Linked DNA regions of Homo sapiens: region 1 is linked to region 2. The links are contacts of gene promoters, found by promoter capture Hi-C in blood cells and fetal thymus (Javierre and others, 2016). All regions are on one chromosome and are shown on one strand. The core of a region is centred on a gene start or on the middle of the fragment in contact, and the rest is flanking DNA. Distances in the headings are between cores, read along the strand shown. Region 1 has its middle 97 kb from the start of TMEM45B. Region 2 holds the start of BARX2 (BARX homeobox 2).

What was found. Contacts are between HindIII fragments. The CHiCAGO score rates a contact against its expected background, and 5 or more counts as called.
Region 1: a contact is called between a fragment that was not itself captured here and the fragment with the promoter of BARX2 in region 2, in 1 of 17 cell types (endothelial precursors). The highest score is 5.7, in endothelial precursors.

What each region holds. Positions count from the first base shown.
Region 1 is chr11:129,715,788-129,722,044 of GRCh38, forward strand. No RefSeq gene overlaps it. Among named protein-coding and RNA genes, the nearest start is that of TMEM45B, 97 kb to the right of the region's middle. The HindIII fragment of the contact is 3,568 bases long and covers 518-4,085 here.
Region 2 is chr11:129,372,524-129,378,294 of GRCh38, forward strand. It overlaps BARX2 (BARX homeobox 2), which reads left to right and starts at 3,325. Exons shown (of 4, transcript NM_003658.5): 1 at 3,325-3,699. The coding sequence starts at 3,513. The HindIII fragment of the contact is 13,394 bases long and covers 1-5,771 here.

The DNA.
Region 1 (6,257 bases), core at 1,052-3,551, 340 kb after region 2:
AAGAGAGAAGAATCAAATAGATGCAATAAAAAATGATAAAGGGGATATCACCACCAATCCCACAGAAATACTAACTACCATCAGAGAATACTGTAAACACCTCTATACAAATAAACTAGAAAATCTGGAAGAAATGGATAAATTCCTCGACACATACACCCTCCCAAGACTAAACCAGGAAGAAGTTGAATCTCTGAATAGACCAATAACAGGAGCTGAAATTGAGGCAATAATTAATAGCTTACCAACCAAAAAAGTCCAGGACCAGATAGATTCACAGCCGAATTCTACCAGAGGTACAAGGAGGAGCTGGTACCATTCCTTCTGAAATTATTGCAATCAACAGAAAAAGAGGGAATCCTCCCTAACTCATTTTATGAGGCCAGCATCATCCCGATACCAACGCCTGGCAGAGACACAACAAAAAAAGAGAATTTTAGACCAATATCCCTGATGAACATCGATGTGAAAATCCTCAATAAAATACTGGCAAACCAAATCCAGCAGCACATCAAAAAGCTTATCCCCCATGATCAAGCGGGCTTCATCCCTGAGATGCAAGGCTGGTTCAACATATGAAAATCAGTAAACGTAATCCGGCATATAAACACAACCAACAGCAAAAATCATATGATTATCTCAATAGATGCAGAAAAGGCCTTTGACAAAATTCAACAGCCCTTCATGCTAAAAACTCTCAATAAATTAGGTATCGATGGGACGTATCTCAAAATAATAAGAGCTATCTATGACAAACCCACAGCCAATATCATGTTGAATGGGCAAAAACTGGAAGCATTCCCTTTGAAAACGGGCACAAGACAGGGAGGCCCTCTCTCACCACTCCTATTCAACATAGTGTTGGAAGTTCTGGCCAGGACAATCAGGCAGGAGAAAGAAATAAAGGGTATTCAATTAGGAAAAGAGGAAGTCAAATTGTCCCTGTTTGCAGATGACATGATTGTATATCTAGAAAACCCCATCGTCTCAGCCCAAAATCTCCTTAAGCTGATAGGCAACTTCAGCAAAGTCTCAGGATACAAAAACAATGTGCAAAAATCACAAGCATTCTTATACACCAATAACAGACAAACAGCCAAATCATGAGTGAACTCCCATTCACAATTGCTTCAAAGAGAATAAAATACCTAGGAATCCAACTGACAAGGGATGTGAAGGACCTCTTCAAGGAGAACTACAAACCACTGCTCAATGAAATAAAAGAGGATACAAACAAATGGAAGAACATTCCATGCTCATGGGTAGGAAGAATCAATATCGTGAAAATGGCCATACTGCCCAAGGTGATTTATAGATTCAATGCCATCCCCATCAAGCTACCAATGACTTTCTTCACAGAATTGGAAAAAACTACTTTAAAGTTCATATGCAACCAAAAAAGAGCCCACATTGCCAAGTCAATCCTAAGCCAAAAGAACAAAGCTGGAGGCATCGTGCTACCTGACTTCAAACTATACTACAAGGCTACAGTAACCAAAACAGCATGGTACTGGTACCAAAACAGAGATACAGATCAATGGAACAGAACAGAGCCCTCAGAAATAATGCCACATATCTACAACCATCTGATCTTTGACAAACCTGACAAAAACAAGAAATGGGCAAAGGATTCTCTATTTAATAAATGGTCCTGGGAAAACTGGCTAGCCATATGTAGAAAGCTGAAACTGGATTCCTTCCTTACACTTTATACAAAAATTAATTCAAGAGGATTAAAGACTTAAATGTAAGACCTAAAACCATAAAAACCCTAGAAGAAAACCTAGGCAATATCATTCAGGACATAGGCATGGGCAAGGACTTCATGTCTAAAACACCGAAAGCAATGGCAACAAAAGCCAAAATTGACAAATGGGATCTAATTAAACTAAAGAGCTTCTGCACAGCAAAAGAAACTATCATCAGAGTGAACAGGCAACCTACAGAATGGGAGAAAATTTGTGCAATCTACTTATCTGACAAAGGGCTAATATCCAGAATCTACAATGAACTCAAACAAATTTACAAGAAAAAAACAACCCCATCAACAAGTGGGCGAAGGATATGAACAGACACTTCTCAAAAGAAGACATTTATGCAGCCAAAAGACACATGAAAAAATGCTCATCATCACTGGCCATCAGAGAAATGCAAATCAAAACCACAATGAGATAGCATCTCACACCAGTTAGAATGACAGTCATTAAAAAGTCAGGAAACAACAGGTGCTGGAGAGGATGTGGAGAAATACGAACACTTTTACACTGTTGGTGGGACTGTAAACTAGTTCAACCATTGTGGAAGTCAGTGTGGCGATTCCTCAGGGATCTAGAACTAGAAATACTATTTGACCCAGCAACCCCATTACTGGGTATATACCCAAAGGATTATAAATCATGCTGCTATAAAGACACATGCACACGTATGTTTATTGTGGCACTATTCACAACAGCAAAGACTTGGAACCAAGCCAAATGTCCAACAATGATAGACTGAATTAAGAAAATGTGGCACATATATACCACGGAATACTATGCAGCCATAAAAAAGGATGAGTTCATGTCCTTTGTAGGGAAACGGATGAAGCTGGAAACCATCATTCTCAGCAAACTATCGCAAGGACAAAAAACCAAACACCGCATGTTCTCACTCATAGGTGGGAATTGAACAATGAGAACACATGGACACAGGAAGGGGAACATCACACACCAGAGCCTGTTGTGGGGTTGGGGGACAGGGGAGGGATAGCATTAGGAGATATACCTACCGTTAAATGATGAGTTAATGGGTGCAGCACACCAACATGGCACATGTATACATATGTAACAAACCTGCACGTTGTGCACATGTACCCTAAAACTTAAAGTATAATAAATTTTTTAAAAAAGCCAAACTCATAGGCACAGACAAGAGAACAGGGAAAGGGCTGGGGCTTGGGGAAACTGGGAAGATGTTGGTCAAAGTGTACACACTTGCAGTTAAAAAATGAATAAGTTCCGGAGTCACCATCCTGACAGCATGGTGACTATCCTATAGTCAATAATAATGTATTGTATACTTGAAATTCACTAAAAGAGTAGATCTTAAGTATTGTATTTCCATTACAAAGAAAAATAGTTGCTATAATGGTGATGGATGGGTTAATTAGCTTGATTGTGGTAATCATTTTACAATGTATACTTATATCAAATCATTACATTACACACCTTAAATATATACAATTTTTATTTGTATATATATGTCAATTATATATGTAGATGTCAATTATATATGTATATATTACATACATATATATGTATTGTCAATTATACCTCAATAAAGCTGGAAAAATATACATAAATTTTTAAAACTCCCACCATGGCCAATTTCAAGCAACCACAGTGAGGTCACTGATGCAGAGTTCGGCAGAGATGTTCCCAGTTGGCTCTCATGAGTGGGTGTGAGCCGCCCCAGCTCACCACTGCCTACGCAAATGCTCAGCACAGAGAGTGGGCTGTCATTCTCCACAAACCCTCCTGGAATCTTCTTAATGTAGTGAATTGAAGAACTTTTCTAGGTATCTTTAGACAGGATGACCAGTACTTGATGAAGGGTGGATGTCCTCAGACCCAGAGTAGGGAAACCATGTAAGCAGCTTCCCACACAGAACCCAGGTTGAACTGGGCTAATTTCTGTCTTAATGACAAGGATGCCAACAGTGGCAGGTGGGTATTTGGCAATCACTGAGCCACCCCTATCAATGTACTGGTGCTACAATAGATCTCCCAAGCTCTGAAACAGTACGTCAGAAAGACCCTGCCACCCTATCCTTTCCGCCTCTGTCGTTCACCTCCTTTTAAAGAGAGCTGTTTGGGGGAATCTCCTAGTTCCCTTTTCTTCCTCACCTTTCCTCATTTCTCTTGTCTTAGGTGAAGAATTGAGCTGGTGACCATTTGACAGTGTAACTGAGATAGAGAAATACTGATCTAGAAGGTATGGAAAGATCCCAGCCCTGCTGTCCTACAACCTTCCTGGGGCCAGCCTCTTTGTCTGCATAGCCAACAGGGTTTCCATGGCTTCCAAGAGGACATCTGACACAGGTATTAAGCTTTCTGAAATAAAAAAAAAAGATGTACACACACAGGATTAGCTTTTAAACCCTCCATGAGCGTTCAATGATGTAACCGATCACTCTCTTCCTAGACCTTCCTTCCTAGTCATCAATAAATCAGAGTTGGTAATGATCCTTCGAAGATTTCATGTTCAGTAGTTATTTGATTAAAGCTAAATTTGGCCTTTTTGTGTGAGACTGTGCTTTGAAGGGTGACCAAATGAAACCGGGCTCCACAAGAATAAAGCAGGTGCAGCCAGGGCATCAAAGCAGGGGGTGCAGGGAGCACTCCCGGGTCCTGTGCCCAGTCCTGTCACCTCAGCCCTCAATCCCCTGGCAGAGAGGAAGCCTTAGTACAGTTAGCAGACAGGATTAGGAGGGGTGATCATCCCCATACGTGAAGCAATTTGCCCAAAAGGAAAACAGCTCCCCTCAGCCCTGCAGGCCCAGCCAGCGGCCTCCTCCTGCAGGCATCCCCTGCCTGTCCTCAGCACCCTGCATTAAGCCCAGGTCTAGACTTGGGCAGATTGTGCAACTCCTAAGAGATTAGTTTCCTCACTTGTTACCTGAGACTGCATGTCCTTTATGATGGACAGGTGGTCTGGCTCAGAGGGAACAGCCATAGGCTGGAGACAGGCAACGGGGAATTTAAAACCAGTCTTGTCACCATTGGTGCCATGTGACCTTGACTGAGCAAAGCACTGCACTTGAACCTGTTTCTCTCTCCCCATTAAACAGGGATGAGGAAGAAGATGATGACGACAATGGCGATGATAGCCTAGAAAGTTACAAGATGTCCATTGTAACTTCCTAGTCCACAAACGCCCAGATAAACCTGATCTGATCTCTGCTTCCGTCCTGTTATGAATGTCCCCTTTGGTCTGGCCCTGCACTGCATCTCTACGTCCTCACTTGGACTGAGCCCCAATTTCTTGCCCCATGAGCATCCAAAGTCCTCCTTACAACATCTGTGAATTCTGCTGCTTACCCACTTATGACTCTCCCACCTCCCGGTAGTTCATTTGTGCATCTACCTCCATGCTGCCCCACACTGATCCAAATGTCACCCCAACCCCCGATTACTATGAAAAACTCACATGCAAGCACCTTGTAAATTCAGAGAAACTGAATATGGGGAGGTGGCCAGGGGCTGTGGTCACTTCACGCACCTCACACCCTTCCCCTCTCATTTTTCCTCTCCCCGAAACCCGCAGAACTGAGCACAAGCCCCTCCCCTTGCCATGTCGGGCAATTCCGCCCACGTCCAGGCCCTCCTAAACTTTCCGCTTATGTTCCGAAGCACAGAGCAAAGTATTTCCCCAACAAATCAGCTTTCTCTAAGGGAAATACTGGTACATTAACTCGTCTCCACTTTGTCACAGTTAGAATGACAAATATGAATGCACTTCATTTATAGGGTACTTCAGAAGCCATCTCATCCGATCCTCACAGCCACCCTGAGAGCTGAAATTCTATAGAGGGAGATACTGAGGCTCAGAGATATTACGTGACCAACAGTGAACACCCAAGAAAGGGTGGAGTCCGAGTTTAGAGCCGATCTGACTCCAAAGCCCACGCCTTTCCTTCTCCCACCTGCCCCTTTGTTTCCACTGTTGAGGATCCCCTGGGGACTGCCTGGACGAACACCTGCTCCCTGGAAGACATCAGGAAGCCACCCTCTCCCTGACACGAGGGCAGAAAACTCTTCTTCTACACCACCCTTCCCCCTCCGCTCAGATTCTTCAGCTGTAGGGGGAAAGCCTTGTTCTCTGACCACCAAAGGAGCACAGCCTTCCAGAGGGTCTTTCTCAAGATCAGCAGGAGACAGGCAGCTGAGCGTGGAATTCTGGATGGGAGGGTGACAGGGAGAGTTGCGCTGTCTGGCTTTTCTCCCTCCCCACACTACCCCACTGGTTCCTGAGCACAAGCGTCATAGCTAAGCCCTGGCCTATGTGTGCAACAGAGAGAGAGCGAGAGACAGAAAAGGGACAGCAGAGCAGAAAGGCGTGGAGTCGAGTCCGAGTGAGGATGTAGAGATGCAGTGCAGGGCCAGACCAAAGGGGACGTTCATAACAGGACAGAAGCAGAGAACCTGTGAGTGCCTATTCGATGTAAAACTGCTGTCGACTGGGCACAGTGGCTCACGCCTGTAATCCCAGTACTTTGG
Region 2 (5,771 bases), core at 2,075-4,574:
AAGGAGGTGAATTGGAATTTTTACTTCTTCACCTATTAAAACACTGCAGATTTCAAATCAAAGAACTCGTCTGCGGGAGTGTCTGGATTTTGTGAGTTTTGTGCCTGTGGCCGAGTGGAAGCGGAGAGGAGTGAGAGCGCTGGGCGACGCGGCCAGCCAAGGCGAGGCCGGTCCCTCCCGGGCTTGGGCTCTGTCCCTGCGCGTGAGCCGCCTGCAGCCTTCCGAGGGGCAGCACCGCGACCAGGAACACGCGAACGCGAGTCCAGACCCGGGTTTGGAAAAAGGGAAGAAGGAGAGGAGGAGAAGGGAAGTTAAAAAGAGAGAGAGAAAACAAGGATGAACGATGGGGAGAAGGGAGGGCAGAAGAGAGAAAACAGAAGCGGGAAATTCGACAGAGGAGGAGAGGCCCAAAGGGCGGGGAGCAATGCGGGGAAGGGAGAAGTGGGAGGGAAGAAGAGGAGAGGAGTCAGTGGCGGTGGAAGGAAGGGGAAGAACCAGAGAGAAGAAAAGAGGTTAAGGAAAAGAAGAGCAATGCAAAGTCGGGGCCCCGAATAGTGCCGCATTCTGTGGGCACACGCCGGGCAGATAGAAAGTATAGACGCGACGCGCTCGGCCCCTCGTCGGGCGTCGGGTCCTGGTGCTGTCGCTCAGGTGCTGGTCCCCAGCTCCAAGCCCGCCTCGTAGTCGGCGCTGCGGGTGAGATCGCCCGCAAGCACTCAGTTTACTGGCGGCTGCCTACCAGCGGCTCACTTTCCTCGGGGCGCCTAAAGCTCCCCGCCCGGCATTGCCCCGGGAGCGAACGCTGAGCCCCTGGGACCCAGCCCCGACTCGGCGCAGCGGTTTCCCTCTCGGCTTGCGCCCGGGAGAACCCCCTCCGTCGTGGCGTCGGACGGCGATGCCAGGGCTGAGCGGTGAGCTGTCCCGGGTCCCGCGCTTTGACCGCGGACCAGCCTCAGGGTCCCGCCGCGGAAGCAGGGGGCGCGCCTGGGGCCAGCCTGTAGACCCCAGAGTCCGGCGGCAGGACCCCCGGCGCCACCCGGACACCTGGCAGCAGTTCTCGCCTGCCCTGCAGCCGCCTCTGCATGGAGAAAGAGAATGAAAGAAAACAATTCTAGATGGAGAGGAGGGGAGGGGAGGCCAGTTTGCAAATACTTCGGGAATGAAGTTCCTCAAAGACGCGTTGCGGGCCTTGTCTAATGCTAGGCTGTGACTTGGCCTCTTAACATCTATTTTCTCACGCCTGTAATCCCAGCACTTTGGGAGGCGAAGCGGGTGAATCACGAGGTCAGGAGTTCAAGACCAGCCTGGCCAAGATGGTGAAACCTGGTCTCTACTAAAAAATACAAAAGTTAGCCGGGCGCGGTGACAGGCGCCTGTAATCCCAGCTTCTCGGGAGACTGAGGCAGGAGAATCGCTTGAACCTGGGGGGCAGAGGTTGCAATGAGGCGAGATCACGCCACTGCACTCCAGCCTGGGCGACAGAGTGAGGCTCGGTCTCAAAAAAAAAAGAAAAAATCTATTTTCTCTAACAGCCTAATGATTAGTCCTCTGGGCGTGTCCCTCCCTCCTAGTTTAATCACCGGCCCAGGCGCCCTCATTTACTTGCTTCCGCGGCCACCAGGGCCCCCTGGGCAAGCAGCTCCGCAGAGAGCCCGCCGGCACTCGCGGACGCTTCTAGGCTGGGAGCGGGGAGGAAATGTCACCGGCCCCAAACTCGGCCCTAGGGAAGGCCATCCGCGTCTATACTTCTCAGTGTCCCTGTCGTGCGTTTTCCTTCCAACCCCATGCACACTCATTCCAACATAAAGTCGTGGAAACGGGCGTGCACTGGGCTGTTCCCGCCGAACACCGGGCGCGACTCAGGCTGCCGGAGGCTTCCCGGGCGCGGAGGCTCGGCGGGGTCCCCTTTACGCAGCAATTCCAATGAACAACTAAAGTCCGTACAGATTTTGATTGGAACAGACCCTAAGACTAAGAGCCTGGAAAGAAAAAGGCAAATCACCCAATAAACGCCTGTCTTCGCGACTCTCTAACCCGGTCGTATCGCGAGGGATCCGGATATTGAAAGCCCCTTTGCCGGAAGACTCGGGCGCTGGGAGAAGCCCGCATGGGACAGGCTGCCCCAGTGCCCGCCGGCTCCCTAGAATCGTGCAGCTCTGACCCTTTCCAACGAGGAAAAAATGTTTTTATAAACAATGTTTTAAAAAAAACCGCACACTTTTTTAAAAAGTCAGAATCTCGCTCTTGTCGCCCAGGCTGGAGTGCAGTGACGAGATCCCGGCTCACTGCAGCCGCGAACTCCTGGGCTCAAGATTTCCTCCTGCCTAAACCTCTCCAATAGCTGGGACTACAGGTTTCCTCTTGCCTCAACCTCTCCAGTAGCTGGGACTACAGGCGTGCACCACCATGCCTGTTTTTAATTTTTCTTTTGTAAAGACAGGGTCTCCCTATATTGACCAGGCTGGTCTCGAACCTCTGACCTCAAGCTATCGTCTCACGTCGGCCTCCCAAATGTTGGGATTACAGGCTTGAGCCACCGCGCCCGGCGATAACTCACACTTTTATTAGTTTTTCTTTTCTTATCTTTTTTTTTTTCTCAGTTTTTTATGAGGGTAACGGACGGGGCCAGGGTCATTTATGATTTGGGATCTTGGGGCAGTCAAGTTTGCAACTTCAGCTCAAAAGTCTTACGCTCGGAGCGCGCAGGCTCAGCGCGGGCTGCGAGACTGCGAGTGGAGGGCTTGGGAAGCCGCGGTCTTCGGGAAACCGTCCACGCGGGGAAGGAGAAAGGCACGGTGGGTCCTCGGGGGCACTGGCTCTGTGGCCCGAAGTCCCGGGAGCCTAGTGAGGACTAGACTTCTTTCTAGTAAGAGACCTGAACGTGCCCTCCCGCTGGGCTGCGGACACTGGGAGCCGGGCCGGCGGGTGGCAGGACAGGCAGTAAGGTGCTCATGGGGAACACTGCCCCGGGGAGCTACCGGCCTGGGCCTTGGCCGCGGGCTGGGGCGGTGCGCGCTCCCCGCACCGCGCGCACACTCCTGCACACACACCTGGAGCGCGTCCCGGGGGGGAGGGGGAGGAGAGCCAAAACGAGCGTCTTAAAATAGAGAGCCAGGCAGAGGAGCGCGAGACACCAGAGCGGGAGGCAGCGACTGAGAGCCGCCGGGCACTAGGCGCGCAGGTCGGCGCCGGAGTGGCACGGGCGGGCGGGGGCGGGGTGGGCGCGGACGCCCCTCAGCACACACTCCGCACCCGGCCCTGCAGGAAGCTCGCGCTGATTGACAGCTGCGTTGTCCCAAAAAGGCTCAGCGAAGATGCTGATCTGCGGGTGGGTCTAGACGCGCGGCAGGCGCGCCCGCTACCCGCTCTCCTCCGCGCGCCACCCGAGCCCCGCCGCCTCCCCAGCTGCCGGGAGCGGGGCCCAGGCCCCGCCGTCGCGCCAGCCCCGCGGCCCCAGCGGGCCGGGCACTCGCAGCCGCGCTCGGGCCGGCGGACGCTCGCGCCGGCTCACCATGCACTGCCACGCCGAGCTGAGGCTGAGCTCGCCCGGCCAGCTCAAAGCAGCCAGGCGGCGCTACAAGACTTTCATGATCGACGAGATCCTCTCCAAGGAGACCTGCGATTACTTTGAGAAACTTTCCCTCTACTCCGTGTGCCCGTCGCTGGTCGTGCGACCCAAGCCCCTGCATTCCTGTACGGGTAAGACGCTCCGCTAGGGGATAAGTGGGGTTCGGTAGCTTTCACGTCCGTGTAGGTGGCCTGTGCTTTGCGATCCGAGGGCGAGAGGAAGGGTTAAGTTAAGGGATTCTTTTCCTGCGCCTCAGCAAGCGGTGGGCATTGCAAAGGCATCTGCGACGTGGCCGGGAAGGACCACGCAAGGTGTGGATGGCACGAGTGGAAATAAAGGCGGCAGGGCCTTAGGAGTGGGCTGCTCGCGCAACGCCTGATTGTCCTGCTCGGAGGAGAACGCTTCCTCGTTTCCTGCTGAAAGTTCAAACACTTGAGCAGGTTCAGCGTCTAAATCGTTGTTTCAGGAAGTGGTGGTGTGTGTGAATTTCAAACTTGAGCTTGGCGGCCTTGCATCTCACCTTGAGTTAACTTGTCCAGCCTCCTACTGTCTCCACTGTGAATTTTGCAAGTAAATCAGTATCCTGAGGTTCTCAACAAAATCTCGAATTCACTGAGCTTTGCTTACAATGATCGCCCTCTGAGAAAGTAGTTCTGAAGTACATTGTCTTTGTGGCACAAGCCGAAAAGGTCACCCTCGTTTGTCTTAAGTCAAGCCGAAAAGGTCACCCTCGTTTGTCTTAAGTGACCAAAACCAGCAATGGTAACAATGAAAACATTACTCACACCTGGTTTTCTCTCTTCACGGGAGGTAAGAGCAATAGTAAAGATAAAGAGAACTTAATACATATATTGAAAACGTAGTAGAGTTTCTATCGAAAATAAATCCAAGGTACTTTTAAAATTTTGAATGCATTAAGAGAAGATCCAAGTTTCAAAGTATCTCGGCATTGTTAGGATTTAGGTTATGGAACATGGGTATAATAAAACGAAAAAGAAGTAGGAGCACTTTTTATCAGAAAAAAGTTATTGAGTGTGCTTTCCATTAAAGGTAAGCATAAAGTATTTCCAAACCAAAAGAACCTTTGAGATTGTTAGTTGCATGAGAGGCATGAGATAAATTAAATTACACTTAAAATGAAAAAATGAAGGGCCAACAGTTTTGGAAGATATTTTTTGGAACATTTGAGTTGTTAATGCTCAATGCGTGGAATCCTGTATTTTCTCTTGGTTCCATTGATAGTCCCTATATGACAATCAGTAAACATATGATAAATACATACAGTGAAGTTCTTTTAAAACCAAATTGTTCCTACATGTATTTGGTTGTAAAATGTATACTGTATTCAGTTATGCCTTTTTAAAGTTAATTTGTCTGTAAGGTAGAATTAGGCCTGATGTCCCATAACAAGCCTTGTAATACTGAATTTTTAAAACCAAGAAATATATGAAACAAGGAACAAATAAGAAATTTTAGAAACAAGATAGATCTCCTGAGAACTGATATTTTTACATTTGTGTATAGGTGGTTGTGGACCCTTGGACACATACATACTGAATAGGGGTGATAAGTTGAATATTGTTTTGAGCACAAATCATCCTTTGTTATAATAACTCAATTCCCTTCGAGGAAAAAGAGAGGATCTGTTTCAGTCATTAACATTGCGTATGGGACATTCCCAGGACAAAACAGAACAACTTCTAAGCACCTAGGTAGAGCCTAGTGCCGGCAGAATTTTCAGTGACTTTGTGCTGTGTTGACTTGAAGGCAGCTTTTCCTGGCTTATAGGAGTCACAGAATTGGATCATAGAAGAAAACGTGGCAGAAGAGGAGTAATAAATAGCTGCAGAGAATAGTCATTCAGTCAGAGGTGGCTGAGTAAGTGTCGTGTTTTATTGAACCTTGTGTGGGAAATAAATCAGAGGAAAAAAAAATGATTCATATGTAGTTTTGTGAGTGTTATAAGTGAAATGCACGTATTTCACAGACTTAAGTGTTGCTCAGTCTTGTGCTTTTCGAAGTTCACTGATGGTTCGTGGTAGAGGGTGGCTGTTGGCAATGGTTTTCTGGCTCCGTTATTCCAGTACTTTCTTCTTTCGGATTGTTAGTTGAAAATGTGTCGTTATTTTGCTCTAGTTGAGAATTAAAATATAGAAACTGGGATTTGCTGGTGGAATTAAACCCATAAAAACTGGCTACAATA